3 separate regions of the Homo sapiens genome follow, and regions 2 and 3 are each linked to region 1. The links are contacts of gene promoters, found by promoter capture Hi-C in blood cells and fetal thymus (Javierre and others, 2016). All regions are on one chromosome and are shown on one strand. Each heading gives the region's core, a stretch centred on a gene start or on the middle of the fragment in contact. The rest is flanking DNA. Distances are from core to core; before and after follow the strand shown. Region 1 holds the start of H2BC6-AS1 (H2BC6 antisense RNA 1). Region 2 overlaps LOC285819 (a long non-coding RNA gene). Region 3 overlaps BTN3A3 (butyrophilin subfamily 3 member A3).

Region 1 (4,179 bases), core at 861-3,360:
AAATCAGAGTGTTCAAATCTTTTCAGGTCAAAAATGAAAGGGAGAGAATATGAGCTTTTGAACTATTTGAATCCCACCCAAGAAGGGTAATTGGAGAATTTGAAACAAAGATCACATTATTCAGTGATATTTCTTGACTAAGCATGACTTATTATGTGTTAATGCTACTAAAGTGTAGCTAGAACTGAAGTAGAGATTCCTAATAGTTCATTATAGAAGCACATGTAGAAAGAATCCTCTTTGTATAGAAAATATTAATGGTGATGGCAAAATGGCACCTAATAACTAAACCCTTCTTATTTCTTCAATCAGGGGAGAGACATGAAGACAGAGGAGAAATGAATGCATAAAATAACTGATAATATGAATCTATACATAGAACTTAGGAAGTCTCATCTGCCTGAAAATGACTGTGTGGATCCCACCCAAATCCAACTCATCCTGGTTTGCTGCACACTGGTTCATCAAAAGAAGGTTACCGAGGGGAAGGAACTAAAGGTGTTTGCACTTCATGTTACTTTTTGAGTTTATAAACATAAAAACAGAATTTACTTCTGTTACAGACCTAGTTACTGGGAATTCATTACTTGCCATGGACTACCTTTGCTAAGAAAAGTCTGAATGAGAAGATGGCAGGACGTCTGAAAAAAAAAGTTATAATTAATAAAATCTGCGGAGAATTGTAAATTCTGCCTTCATTGTTGATCCAAACCTTTCTTCTAAGACCTCCCCTTTCTAGACATCTATCTACCTATTTTCACTTTACTTTCCAGCATCAAGGAGGTCTGAGTGGATAAGGCCTAAGCACTGATGTGGCTTTGGTAATGAACCTGAAGTTAAAAACTGGTTAGCTTATGCTAAGCTGCCATTTGAAAGGTCTCCTCCAGCATCTGAATTAAGGGAAACAATGTTTTGAAGCAGTCACAAAACTTTTCTGATGCATTAGATCTGAGGTAGGACCTGATAATTTGTACTTCTAAATTATGCAGGTGATGCTGATGCTGCTGGTCCGGAGACCACTTTGGAGAGTTTTACTTTAAAGGAAATGAAACTGCCCTAAAATGCTAATACTAAATAGCCACACAAAGCCGGAAAAAAGCAAAGAATTTCAAACCGAAGATGAGAGGTCCTGAAAAATAACAGCGGTCATCCTACTCCCGGTGCGGCTATGCGGCCATGAAAAGGAGTCTTGGGGCCGGTCGTGCCCCTCCACGCAGGCTCCCTCATAGGGTCATCCCATCAACCCTCGCCAAAAACGCCGGCCCCCTCATAGGGCCGTCCGGCCACGCCCCTCCGTGCCCTAACCACAGAGCCACACGTTACGCCGCCGCCCCGTTACGCCCATCCGGCTCCCGCATAGGGCGTCACGTACGTTTAACGTCGGCCCGGCGCGCGCGTCCGGGAGGTTGCCCGTAGGCCGCTAACTGGTGGTTCCCAGTCCCCGCCGACTCGGCCTCTTTCTTCTGCGGCCACCAGATCGCGGGATATCGGAGACTTCGAACAATCCGCTGGAGTCCTTTACAGTTTAAAAACAGAGGACCGGCCGGGCGCGGTGGCTCACGCCTGTAATCCCAGCACTTTGGGAGGCCGAGGCGGGCGGATCACGAGTTCAGGAGATAGAGACCATCCTGGCTAACACCGTGAGACCCCGTCCCTATCAAAAGTACAAAAAAATTAGCCGGGTGTGGTGGCACGCGCCTGTAGTCCCAGCTACTCAGGAGGCTGAGGCAGAAGAATCGCTAGAACCAGGGAGGCGGAGGTTGCAGTGACCGAGATCGCGCCGCTGCACTCCAGCCTAGGCGACAGAGCGAGACTGCGTCTCAAAACAAAAAAAACGGAGGATCGAAAATTTTGAAGACTGAGAGCAAGGCAACAATCTTCCCTTGACCTTTTTGCTCCTCTCACAAGGGTTTTTCAGACGGCTGAAACCAACGAAAAGAGTGAGGAAGCAGGCAGAAAATTTCAGCTTTAGTCTCTCAGCATCCTCCTGCTTTCTTCTCGGGGAGCTGGCACTTCCCCCTTCTCTAGTAGCTGTAAATACGCCTCCCAACTCCAAGGAGACCTTTCTTGCATCTCCCTTACTGTTCTCACGCCTGTAGGGCTCTTCGTGTGAGGATTCAGTGTATGTATGTATGTATATGAATGTGTGCGAATAATTATTTCCTAATTGAGTTTTTTTTTAAAAAAATCATCTTCCGGTACACGCAGTGCCGTACTCCATTAAACAGCAGGCACGGTGTCTAGGGTCCGCAGTTCTTTTGGAGGCTCATGAAAATATTTTAATTTCTTCTAAAGTCAGAAGGAAAAAAATGAACATTTAAGTCGAAGAAGATGTTACATATTAATCTTCATATGACTTTAATTTTTTTTTTTTTTTTTTTGAAACGGAGTCTCGCTCTGTCCCCCAGGCTGGAGTACAGTGGCGCAGTCTCGGCTCACTGCAAGCTCTGCCTCCCGGGTTCACGCCATTCTCCTGCCTCAGCTTCCCGAGTAGCTGGGACTACAGTCACCACGCCCGACTAAGTTTTTTTGTATTTTTTAGTAGAGACGGGGTTTCACCGTGTTAGCCAGGATGGTCTCGATCTCCTGACCTCGTGATCCGCCCGCCTCGGCCTCCCAAAGTGCTGGGATTACAGGCGTGAGCCACAACGCCTGGCCTATGCCCACTAATTCCAATTCTTATTTGATCTAATTGTTTATAGATTCTTGTGAACTTTTACCTTGACAATTATGTTATTTTCAAAGATAATCATCTTTTCCTATTGAATCCTTGCTCTTCTGACTGCCTGTTCCTATCTCATGGTATTGGCCAAACCCTGTGATGCCGTGTTGAATAGGAGTACTTTCTCACCACACTTGTCTTCCTTCCGCCTCTATGGGAATCCTTCCAAAACGGCACCATTAAGTGTTATACTCGCTGTAGCTCCTCCTTATGAAGTTCTCTTCTCATTGTAGTCTGTTAAGTGTTTATGATTAAAGAGTGTTATATTTTGTTAAATGCTTTCGCAGTATCTTTGGAGATGATCATGTTTTTTCTTTATTAATCTCTTTTTTATTTTATTTATTTTATTTTATTTTATTTTATTTTTTATTATTTTAGTTTTTATTTTGAGATGGAATCTCACTCTGTCTCCCAGGCTGGAGTGCAGTGCCCTGATCTAAGCTCATTACAACCTCTACCTCCCAGGTTCAAGCGATTCTTCTGCCTCACTTTCCCAAGTAACAGGGACTACAGGTGCGTGCCACCACATCTGGCTAAGTTTTGTATTATCAGAAGAAGATAGGCCGCCATTGGCCAGGCTGGCCTTGAACTCCTGACATTAAGTGATCCACCTGCCTCAGCCTCCTAAAGTGCTAGGAATACAGGCGTGAGCCACTGCTCTGGGCCTTCCTTTATTAATTTCTTAAACTGGCAGATTTAGAATACTAAACTTCCTTCTATTCTTAGAATAAACCCTATATAATCAGCTATTTATTTAAATAACATGGTCTCTGCAATTTCTCCTGGTTTCCATTTTTTCTCATAATAGGCATTTTTTTCTAAAAAACAAAAATGAATGTTCATTAGTGAGACAAAACTATAATTTTGTTTTTTTCTTCTTTCTCTCTTCCTTCCTTTTTAAAATTTGTATTCTCCAGTTTTGCTAATAATGTTATACAATTTTACAAGAAAAAAGTGAGTAGGAGAGCTGTTTTTCTATAGTAACAGATTCTGTGAAATAGGTATCATGCCAAGTGAGGTGGCACGTCCCTGTAGTCCCAGCTACTCAGGAGGTGAAGCAGAAGGACCACTTGAGCCCAGGAATTGGAGACTGTAGTGTGCTGCCATCATGCCTGTGTATAGCTTCTGCGCTACAGCCTAGGCAACGTAGCGAGAACCATCTCAGAAAAAAAAAAAAAAAAAAAGAGATAATCTATTCCTCATAAATTCACTAAAACTTGGAATATCTGACCGGACTTGGCAGCATTTGGGTGGAAGGACGTAGAAAATATTTTTTAACTGCCTACCTTATTTTCATAATCATAATTTGTTTAGTCAGCTTGTCTATTTTCTTCTTTTTCTTGAAAATTATTTTCCACTGAGTTTAATTTTTTGTAAAAGTTACACAGCATTCTCTTGTCATTCTTTATATCTCCCTTTTTGTAGTTATGTTCCTTAATTTCTGTAACTTTCTGAAA
Region 2 (4,179 bases), core at 635-3,134, 300 kb after region 1:
ACCTCTGAGCCAATCAAAACACGAATTCCTACAAAGAGGATTCTCTTAGTGTTTCTCGGACCGAGTGTACAGCACATGCTTTCTTTTCCTTTATTCTGGATCAGAGAATCTTAACTAAAGCAGAAATAATTGTGTTAAATTAAACTAAATTTGGTATGAGATATGTATACATTTAGCCTGAGGGATGGCTCTTGAGCCCTTAAATAATGAACTGCAACCTAACTTAGTATGTAAACTAACTGAAAGCTTAAGGCATGGGAGTATACTTTTGTAACAAATAGCTGAGTCTCAGCCAATCCCAGTAGCCGAACTTCAGTCGGCGGCAGTCAACCCTGCAGCCAAGTGATCAGACTATGTTCAAATAAGGCCAACTCTGAGCTGTAACCAATTAAGCTGTTTCTGTGTGTCACTTCCCTTGTGGAATGGAGCTCACTGAACCTCTCTGATGGCTGCCCGATCGTTCTGATGGTTTGCAAATTGTTCTTTGTTCAAATTAAACCCTGCTAAATTTAATTTGTCTAAAGTTTTTATTAACAACAGAAAACTATTGATTACCTTTTTTTGTGGGCTATGATTTTCAGATAGGAATATTAAGGAGTAAGTGGGGAAAATTGCTTAGAGCCAGGGCTACAAGGCCTGGAAGAAAAGGGACTGAAAAGCTGAGAGGGGAACTGGCACAGAGAAAGGGGTGAGGATGGAGAGGGTAGAATGCAAAGAGTAAGGACCTGAAGAGGCTGAGATTTGGCTGAAGAGGGACAACCTGAATAGAGAAACCTTCCAACTGCATGTTCTTAGGAACTAATTACAGTCAGAAAGGAGCAAAGACTCCTTTTTTTTTTTTTTGTCAGAGTCTCACTGTTGCCCAGGCTGGAGTGCAGTGACACAATCTCGGCTCACTGCAGCATCCACCTTCCCAGCCAAGCAATTCTCTGGCCTCAGCCTCCGGAGTAGCTGGGAATACAGGCATACGCCACCACACCTGGCAAATTTTTTGTATTTTTAATAGAGACGGGGTTTCACCATGTTGGCCAGGCTGGCCGGCCAGGCTGGTACTGAACTCCTGACCTCAAGTGATCCACCCACCTTGGCCTCCCAAAGTGCTGTGATTACAGGCATGAGCCACTGCCCCCAGCCAGGAGACGAAAAGACTCCTAAAATATCTCCTGGTTATGTTTAGGAACATATTCCAAAAGGTTCTAAAAAGAGATGTGCCTTAAAGATTCATATGTATATTGTAAATTTTCAACTCCATATTTTCTAGATGTCCCCAACATCCCCACAACAGCCCGTCAACACCCTGCCCAGGTGACCAAGTACACCAGTGCAACAGGGCTGGTTCCTGCCTGCTTGCCCTTGCTTAACTGTGACCTAGTGACCTCCTCCCATCTTTTGATCTTTATTCCTCTAGTTCACTTCCTTTGTCACTATCTCTCCACCCACACCTACTTGCCTTAATCACCTTAACAGCAAAGGCTGAATTATTGTAAACAAAAGGAGTCTGTCTTTTTAGTGCATGGGTCCCCAAGTATGTATATATGAATATGCAATGAACCCCAGGATACTAAGCTTCACTTAAGGATTTTTTCCTACAAGGACTCAGCTGTCACATTTGGGGGCATTTTGTTTTGTTTTGTGAATGTTTAACCAAGCTAATGGAGGAACTATTGGTACAATGAACTCAAAAAATGTACAGGATCAGCAGGGCATAGTGGCTCACGCCTGTAATTTCAGCACTTTGAGAGGCTGAGTTGGGAGGATCACTTGAGCCCAAAAGTTCAAGATCAGACTGGGAAACATAGTGAGACTTCATCTCTAAAAAATTAAAATAAAATAAAATAAATACAAGGAAAAAAGAAAAATGTACTGGATTGAGGGGAAAAATTTATGATGCAAACAGAAGAGCATTTATGATTGAAGTGAGAGAAGGATAATGGGGGAGGATGGTGAAAGAACATCAATCTAAATTTATATTTAAATTTACATGAATCCAGTGCAGGCAGCATCTCAGGGGAGGGAGGAGTCTATTTTTCTGTTGATTTCCTGGGCTAAATTCCTGACTGACTCATTGCTGAAAGTAAATAACATATTATTATAGTTGAAAGATTTTTTTTTAGTGTAGTGATTTCAAACTGTGCTCATTTATATGCAACCCATGAACGCCTCCCTTCTCCTATGTCTCCTTTTGAGTTGTAGGGCCAGTTTGAAGCTTTATATATCATTTACCAAACTTAGGGTGGTGAGTGGGTGCTGATGGCAGCCTGGTTTGAAAATCTCCACTGGAGAGAAGACACAGCAGGATTCAGATGCAAATGACCAGAGCACTCCAAGTTGGAAAGAACTGCTGAGCGGGTCTGTAGAGCCCATCGCTCTCTCCTGTCTATTCATCAGCTAGGCTGAAGCTCCTGACAGACTCACACCAGTATCTTGCTGCTCCAGAAAGGTCGAAGATGGCAGTTTTCCCAAACTCCGGCTTGCCCAGATGTCTGCTCACCCTCATTCTTCTCCAGCTGCCCAAGCTGGTTTCAGATAGGTCTCTCTCTCTGGCCTGCAGAGTTAAAACATCTCAATAAATATAAAGTATAAAAAGAAGCTGGAGCCCAACCACTTCGGCACATGTTCACAGGATCTCGGGGCTGTGTCACAAGCCACTGGGCACTCATATCTGGCTGAGAATAAATCTCTTGCAATATTTTACAGAGTTTGACTCTTTTTGTTTGACAAAATAAATTCAACTCATAACTGCTGAGTTTGGGCTCTGGGCTGTGGAGTTGTCTGGAAATGGGTGCTGGGCTCCCACTGCTGCCTTTCACTCAAGGCCCCCAGATATAGCAACCATCTCTTAGTATGTAAAGATCTGATCTCAAATCATCAGGAGCTTCCAGGTTATTTCATTTTCCTTTTTTTCTCTTCTTTTCACCGATGTTTGACGTCCAGGTTATTTCTAAGGTGACAGAAAGAAGCAGAACACTTTCTTGTGCCTGATTGATCAGTTGATGTTTTGTAGGCGATAGGATTCAGATAGTAACAGTCCTCCAGTGCGTCCTTCCCACTCTCATTTTCTTCCTCCTCCTCCTCACATCTCAGCCCCAGAGGCCTATTGAAGAATTTCTATTCATTTTACAAAGAAGCTCCTGAAATTTTTATGTTAGTTTTGTCTTTTTATTTTCCTCCTTCTTCTTCTTCCTCTTTTTCTTCTTCCTCTTCTTCTTCTTCACACCACTATACAAAGGAGGAAGTTTAGTTTTGTCTTTTACTTTAAATTACACAAGATTTTTTTTTCTTTCTCTCTCTGTCTCTTTATTATTTTAAATTGTTTGTAGAGATGGAGTCTCGCTCGAACTCCTTAGTTGGCTCAAGTGATCTTCCTGCATTGGCCTCCCAAAGTGCTGGGATTACAGGTGTGAGCCACCGTACCCAGCTGATTTTCTCTTTAACCTGGCAATGACTCTTGTTTCTGTTTTATTATAGAATGGAAACTGGCTCGATCTTGTGCAGGTTAGTGGCTGGGCACTGCTCTGGGTGCTGAGATTTAACCTCTGAGGTATCCAAAGACCTAAAATAAGTGGAAATGAAAAATGCTGATACCCTTTTAGTGATGAACACAGAGATTTTAAGTTGTGGGGAAAAAAAAAAGAAAGAAAGCCTAATACTTCCTTGGAACACAGAGAGGGGCTTTGGAAGATGGCCAAGAGTCCAGCTTCCTGTGAGATTATCTCACGAGGCATTACAAGCCTGGGCACAGTCAACTCTTAACATCACCCTCTGGCTGCTGGTGACAGAGGGAGCCTGGGGGAATGGAGACCCCTTAGCAGGCCAAACAGCCCTCCCCCTGAGGAGACCTATCAACTCCTACAGCAGTGCTCTGTTTCTTAGAAGCAAAAATAGTCCTGTAACCATAACACTCACCAATGGTCAGACTTTTTGTTTCTGTCTTTCTCTCCAGTTGAAGTGACTCTGGACCCAAACATAGCCCTCCCTCACCTCTTTCTTTATTAGGATTCAAATCTGTTTGACTGGAAGATTCATGTCAGAAACTGCCTGAAAAACCAGAGAGATGTGACTCCTGGCCCTGTGTGCTAGGCCTGGAAGCCTTCACCTCGGAGAGACATTACCAGGAAGTGGAGGTGGGAGATGGGAAATAATGGTTGGTTGGAGTCTGTAGGAAGAATGTGATGAAGA
Region 3 (4,179 bases), core at 794-3,293, 280 kb after region 1:
CTACACCTTTCCGCACGCCTCTTTCTCTGAGCCTCTATATCCTGTTTTCAGAATTTTGACCTTGGAGCCCACTGCCCTGACCATTTGCCCAATACCAAAAGAAGTAGAGAGTTCCCCCGATCCTGACCTAGTGCCTGATCATTCCCTGGAGACACCACTGACCCCGGGCTTAGCTAATGAAAGTGGGGAGCCTCAGGCTGAAGTAACATCTCTGCTTCTCCCTGCCCACCCTGGAGCTGAGGTCTCCCCTTCTGCAACAACCAATCAGAACCATAAGCTACAGGCACGCACTGAAGCACTTTACTGATATTCATTCCATTATTCCATATGACAGTTGTTTTGAGTTTCGTACCACCTTATTGTCCCCTTATACAGATAAGGAAACTGGGGTGCAGAAAGGTGAATTAACTTTACAAAGTAGACATGACAAGTGAACAGCAGAGCTGGGATCTAAACAGCAATAACTAACATTAACAGAGAATTTAAAATGTTCTTAGTGCTGTGTTATAAGCTTTGGTGGATGTCACTCCTTTAATCCTCACAACACCCTGTCGGGTAGTCATATTTTGCAAGTATGGAAGCTGAGGCAGGGCAACATGAAGTAACTTACATAACTCATACAGTAATTTGTGCAGTTGGGAGATGTTCAGCCTTAGTCCCTGGCTAATTGCCTGTTCTTTTCCAGCCTGATTTTTTTTCCCACAGGAAGAGCCCACATGTAGCCCTGAGGTTTCCTTCCCAGGACAGCTGCAGGGTAGAGATCATTTTAAGTGCTTGTGGAGTTGACATCCCTATTGACTCTTTCCCAGCTGATATCAGAGACTTAGACCCAGCACTCCTTGGATTAGCTCTGCAGAGTGTCTTGGTTGAGAGAATAACCTCATAGTACCAACATGACATGTGACTTGGAAAGAGACTAGAGGCCACACTTGATAAATCATGGGGCACAGATATGTTCCCACCCAACAAATGTGATAAGTGATTGTGCAGCCAGAGCCAGCCTTCCTTCAATCAAGGTTTCCAGGCAGAGCAAATACCCTAGAGATTCTCTGTGATATAGGAAATTTGGATCAAGGAAGCTAAAAGAATTACAGGGATGTTTTTAATCCCACTATGGACTCAGTCTCCTGGAAATAGGTCTGTCCACTCCTGGTCATTGGTGGATGTTAAACCCATATTCCTTTCAACTGCTGCCTGCTAGGGAAAACTGCTCCTCATTATCATCACTATTATTGCTCACCACTGTATCCCCTCTACTTGGCAAGTGGTTGTCAAGTTCTAGTTGTTCAATAAATGTGTTAATAATGCTTACTCCTCAGCTTGGCTTTTTCTAGACTGTGGTGTCTACTCAGCACAGTAGTCTGCACACCCACTGTACTCACCACAGTCTCAGTTTACCTCACTGCAGCATTTTCACAAGACCCTTATTGGATGCATTTTCTGTTGTTGCCATCTGAATTACCAGAAATGTATAGACATTTTTTTTTTTTTGAGATTGGATTGTGCCACTGTACTCCCAGGCTGGAGTACAGTGGCACGATCTCAGCTCACTGCAACCTCCACCTCCCAGGTTGAAGTGATTCTCCTGCCTCAGCCTTCCGAGTAGCTGGGACTACAGGTGCGTGCCACCACGCCTGGCTAATTTTTTGTGTTTTCAGTGCAGACGAGGTTTCACCATGTTGTCCAGGATGGTCTCGATCTACTGACCTTGTGATCCACCCACCTCGGCCTCCCAAAGTGCTGGGATTACAGGTATGAGCCACCGCGCCTGGCTTCAGAAATTCATGAACTTAAAGCAACACAAATTTATTATCTCACTGTTCTGTAGGTGAGAAGTCAGAAGTCCCACAGGGATCTCACCAGGCTAGAATCAAGGTGTCTGCAGGCTGGATTCCTTTCTGGAGTCTCTAAGGAAGAATCTGTTTCCTTGCTTATTCAGACTATTGGCAGAATCAGTTCCTTTCATTTATAGGACTGACGTCCCAGTTGTTCCCTGGTTTTTAGCTAAGGGCTGTACCCACTTCTAGAGGCTGCCACACTCTGGCTCCTAGCTCCCTTCCTGTATCTTCAAAGCAGCAACAGCGCATTGAGGCTCATCTCCTAGGTCTTTTTCTCCATTGTGTCTCTCTGATTCTTTTACCTTCTCCTTTTTTTCCTTCCTTTCTTTTTTTTTTTTTTTTCTTCTTTGACAAGGACTCGCTCTGTCACCCAGGCTGAAGTGCAGTGGCGTGATCTCAGCTCACCACATTGTCCCCTGGGCTCAAGCAATCCACCCATCTTAGCTTCTCAAGCAGCTGGGAGCACAGAGCCACATCACCATGCCTGGGTATTTTCTTGTAGAGACAGGGTCTTGCCATGTTGCCCAGGCTGGTCTCAAACTCCTGAGCTCAAGCAATCTGCCCACCTTGGTCTCCCAAAGTGCTGGGATTATAGGCATGAGCCACCACGCTCAGTCTGCCTTTTACTTTTAAAGACTCCTATGATTAAACTGAGATCACCCAGACAATTTAGAATAATCTCTCTATTTTAAGGTCCATAACCTTAATTCTGTGTAAAATTCATTTTACTGTGTTATACATTCTTTTCATAACTTTCATAGTGAATATAGCTCAAAGGGTGGGTGCGGGGAGCACTATTCAGCTCACCACACTGATTTGGGAAGTGATTCCAGGAAACACAAGTGCAGAAACAAATTGAGAAATGAAAAAAAGCCAATTACATGACAAATGGGATAAAGGGTTCACTCATGAGTCAGTTACCATGTGGATAACTTGGCTGAATCCCTTTTAGGACTCTCTAAGAAACCATATGAAATGTGTGATATAGCTCAGAATCTTCCTAAGGACTACAGGGCCTGGGACTTTATCTCCACTTCCCATCCTCCTTTGCTTGAATTGGTTGAAGGTTGGCCTGGGAGTGTTAATTCTAATGCACTTTAAGATTGGGCTATGTAACTGCAGAAAAGCAACTATCACGGGTGTGATAAAGCTCACAGGCAAAGGAGAAGGGAGATACTCACTGGAGGTGGAAAGGTTGTCATCCTTGCAGAAAACTGTGCCTCAGCTATTGGCAAACTGTGATAGGCCAAGAGAATATGGGATGGGGCATCAACAGCGTCTGTTATAAGGGCTCTGCCTCTGAGAATATAGTGAATGCCTTTCAAGGTCTCTCTGCCCTCGCTGTACCACATTTAGCATTAGTGACCTCTTCTCTTCCAATACATGCCCACATCACATGGCCCTGCAGCCTCACCACATGGACTGGGTCTGGGATGGACACCTGACCCAGGCTAGGCCAGAGGACCAAGTGACATGTGGCTAGTTACTCCTGTAGCAGATGTGCATGGGAGCTGTGGGAAGAAATGCTCCATTCATGGTGTGGACTAAACAATGGTGGATTGCAGAGAAGACCAAAGCAGATGAGCAGAGAGAAGGCTACAAGATGGAAAGAGTTTAGGCAAATTTCTCACGTTTGGTTCTTTTAGAAGCCCAGTATCATTTCTTCTTTTTGAAAAAATGTGTTCTTTTGAGGCAAGATAAATGTACTCGTTAATATTGCTTGTAGTCCTAATATTCAGAAGCTTATGCAACTATTATAATATGTTCAGTGATTCTGTGAGTCAGGAATCTAGAATTTGAACAGGGCAGAGTAGGAATGGATTTTCTGTATGTCAACATGTCTAGGCCTCCCCTGGGAGTACTCCATAGCTGGAGATGACACAGCTATATTACCTTCACAGACTGTAGTTTATTGTAAAGCAAAAGGAAATCAATGCTTACCCTGTATCCTGGTTCTTCCAGGGTTGGCAGGTCCATAAAGAACCTTGCCAACGTGACCCTTCCTGTCTCTATCCCTCCCACTACAGAGCATGATTGGGTTAGGTTGTTACTATCTAACCGGGCACACCCCAGTAGAGCCTGATTTCTTTCTAAGCTACCCCATCGTCAACTGATCCTCTTCCTTCTCAGAACACACACGTTTCCCTCTAGCTCAGATCAACTTTGGCAGAGGCTGAAGCCTGGCTTAGCTGGATGCTTCTGGCAAAAGGGCTACTTCAAAGCCCTGGGCCTTATTTCTTCAGGTAAAAAAATATAAAGTCAGATCTCATCCTGGCTGGCCATGCTGTTAGACCCTTTCATCCTTCTCTTCTGCCTCTTCTCAACAGCTGCCCAGTCCTGT

The links. Contacts are between HindIII fragments. The CHiCAGO score rates a contact against its expected background, and 5 or more counts as called.
Region 2: a contact is called between a fragment that was not itself captured here and the fragment with the promoter of H2BC6-AS1 in region 1, in 3 of 17 cell types (naive CD4 T cells, non-activated CD4 T cells and naive CD8 T cells). The highest score is 8.2, in naive CD4 T cells.
Region 3: a contact is called between a fragment that was not itself captured here and the fragment with the promoter of H2BC6-AS1 in region 1, in 1 of 17 cell types (non-activated CD4 T cells). The highest score is 5.0, in non-activated CD4 T cells.

Annotation. Positions count from the first base shown.
Region 1 is chr6:26,170,663-26,174,841 of GRCh38, forward strand. H2BC6-AS1 (H2BC6 antisense RNA 1) reads right to left here and starts at 2,111. Exons shown (of 3, transcript NR_186648.1): 1 at 1,373-2,111. It also overlaps a transcript of H2BC5 not described here. RefSeq lists an enhancer at 1,185-2,077. The HindIII fragment of the contact is 22,011 bases long and covers 1-4,179 here.
Region 2 is chr6:26,473,929-26,478,107 of GRCh38, forward strand. LOC285819 (a long non-coding RNA gene) reads right to left here. Exons shown (of 4, transcript NR_038992.1): 2 at 3,907-4,179; 3 at 2,224-3,553. It also overlaps a transcript of BTN2A1 not described here and the pseudogene BTN1A1P1. Among named protein-coding and RNA genes, the nearest start is that of BTN2A1, 18 kb to the left of the region's middle. RefSeq lists an enhancer at 3,013-4,179. The HindIII fragment of the contact is 640 bases long and covers 1,565-2,204 here.
Region 3 is chr6:26,452,105-26,456,283 of GRCh38, forward strand. It overlaps BTN3A3 (butyrophilin subfamily 3 member A3), which reads left to right. Exons shown (of 11, transcript NM_006994.5): 11 at 1-1,311. The coding sequence ends at 307. Among named protein-coding and RNA genes, the nearest start is that of BTN2A1, 3.8 kb to the right of the region's middle. The HindIII fragment of the contact is 3,069 bases long and covers 510-3,578 here.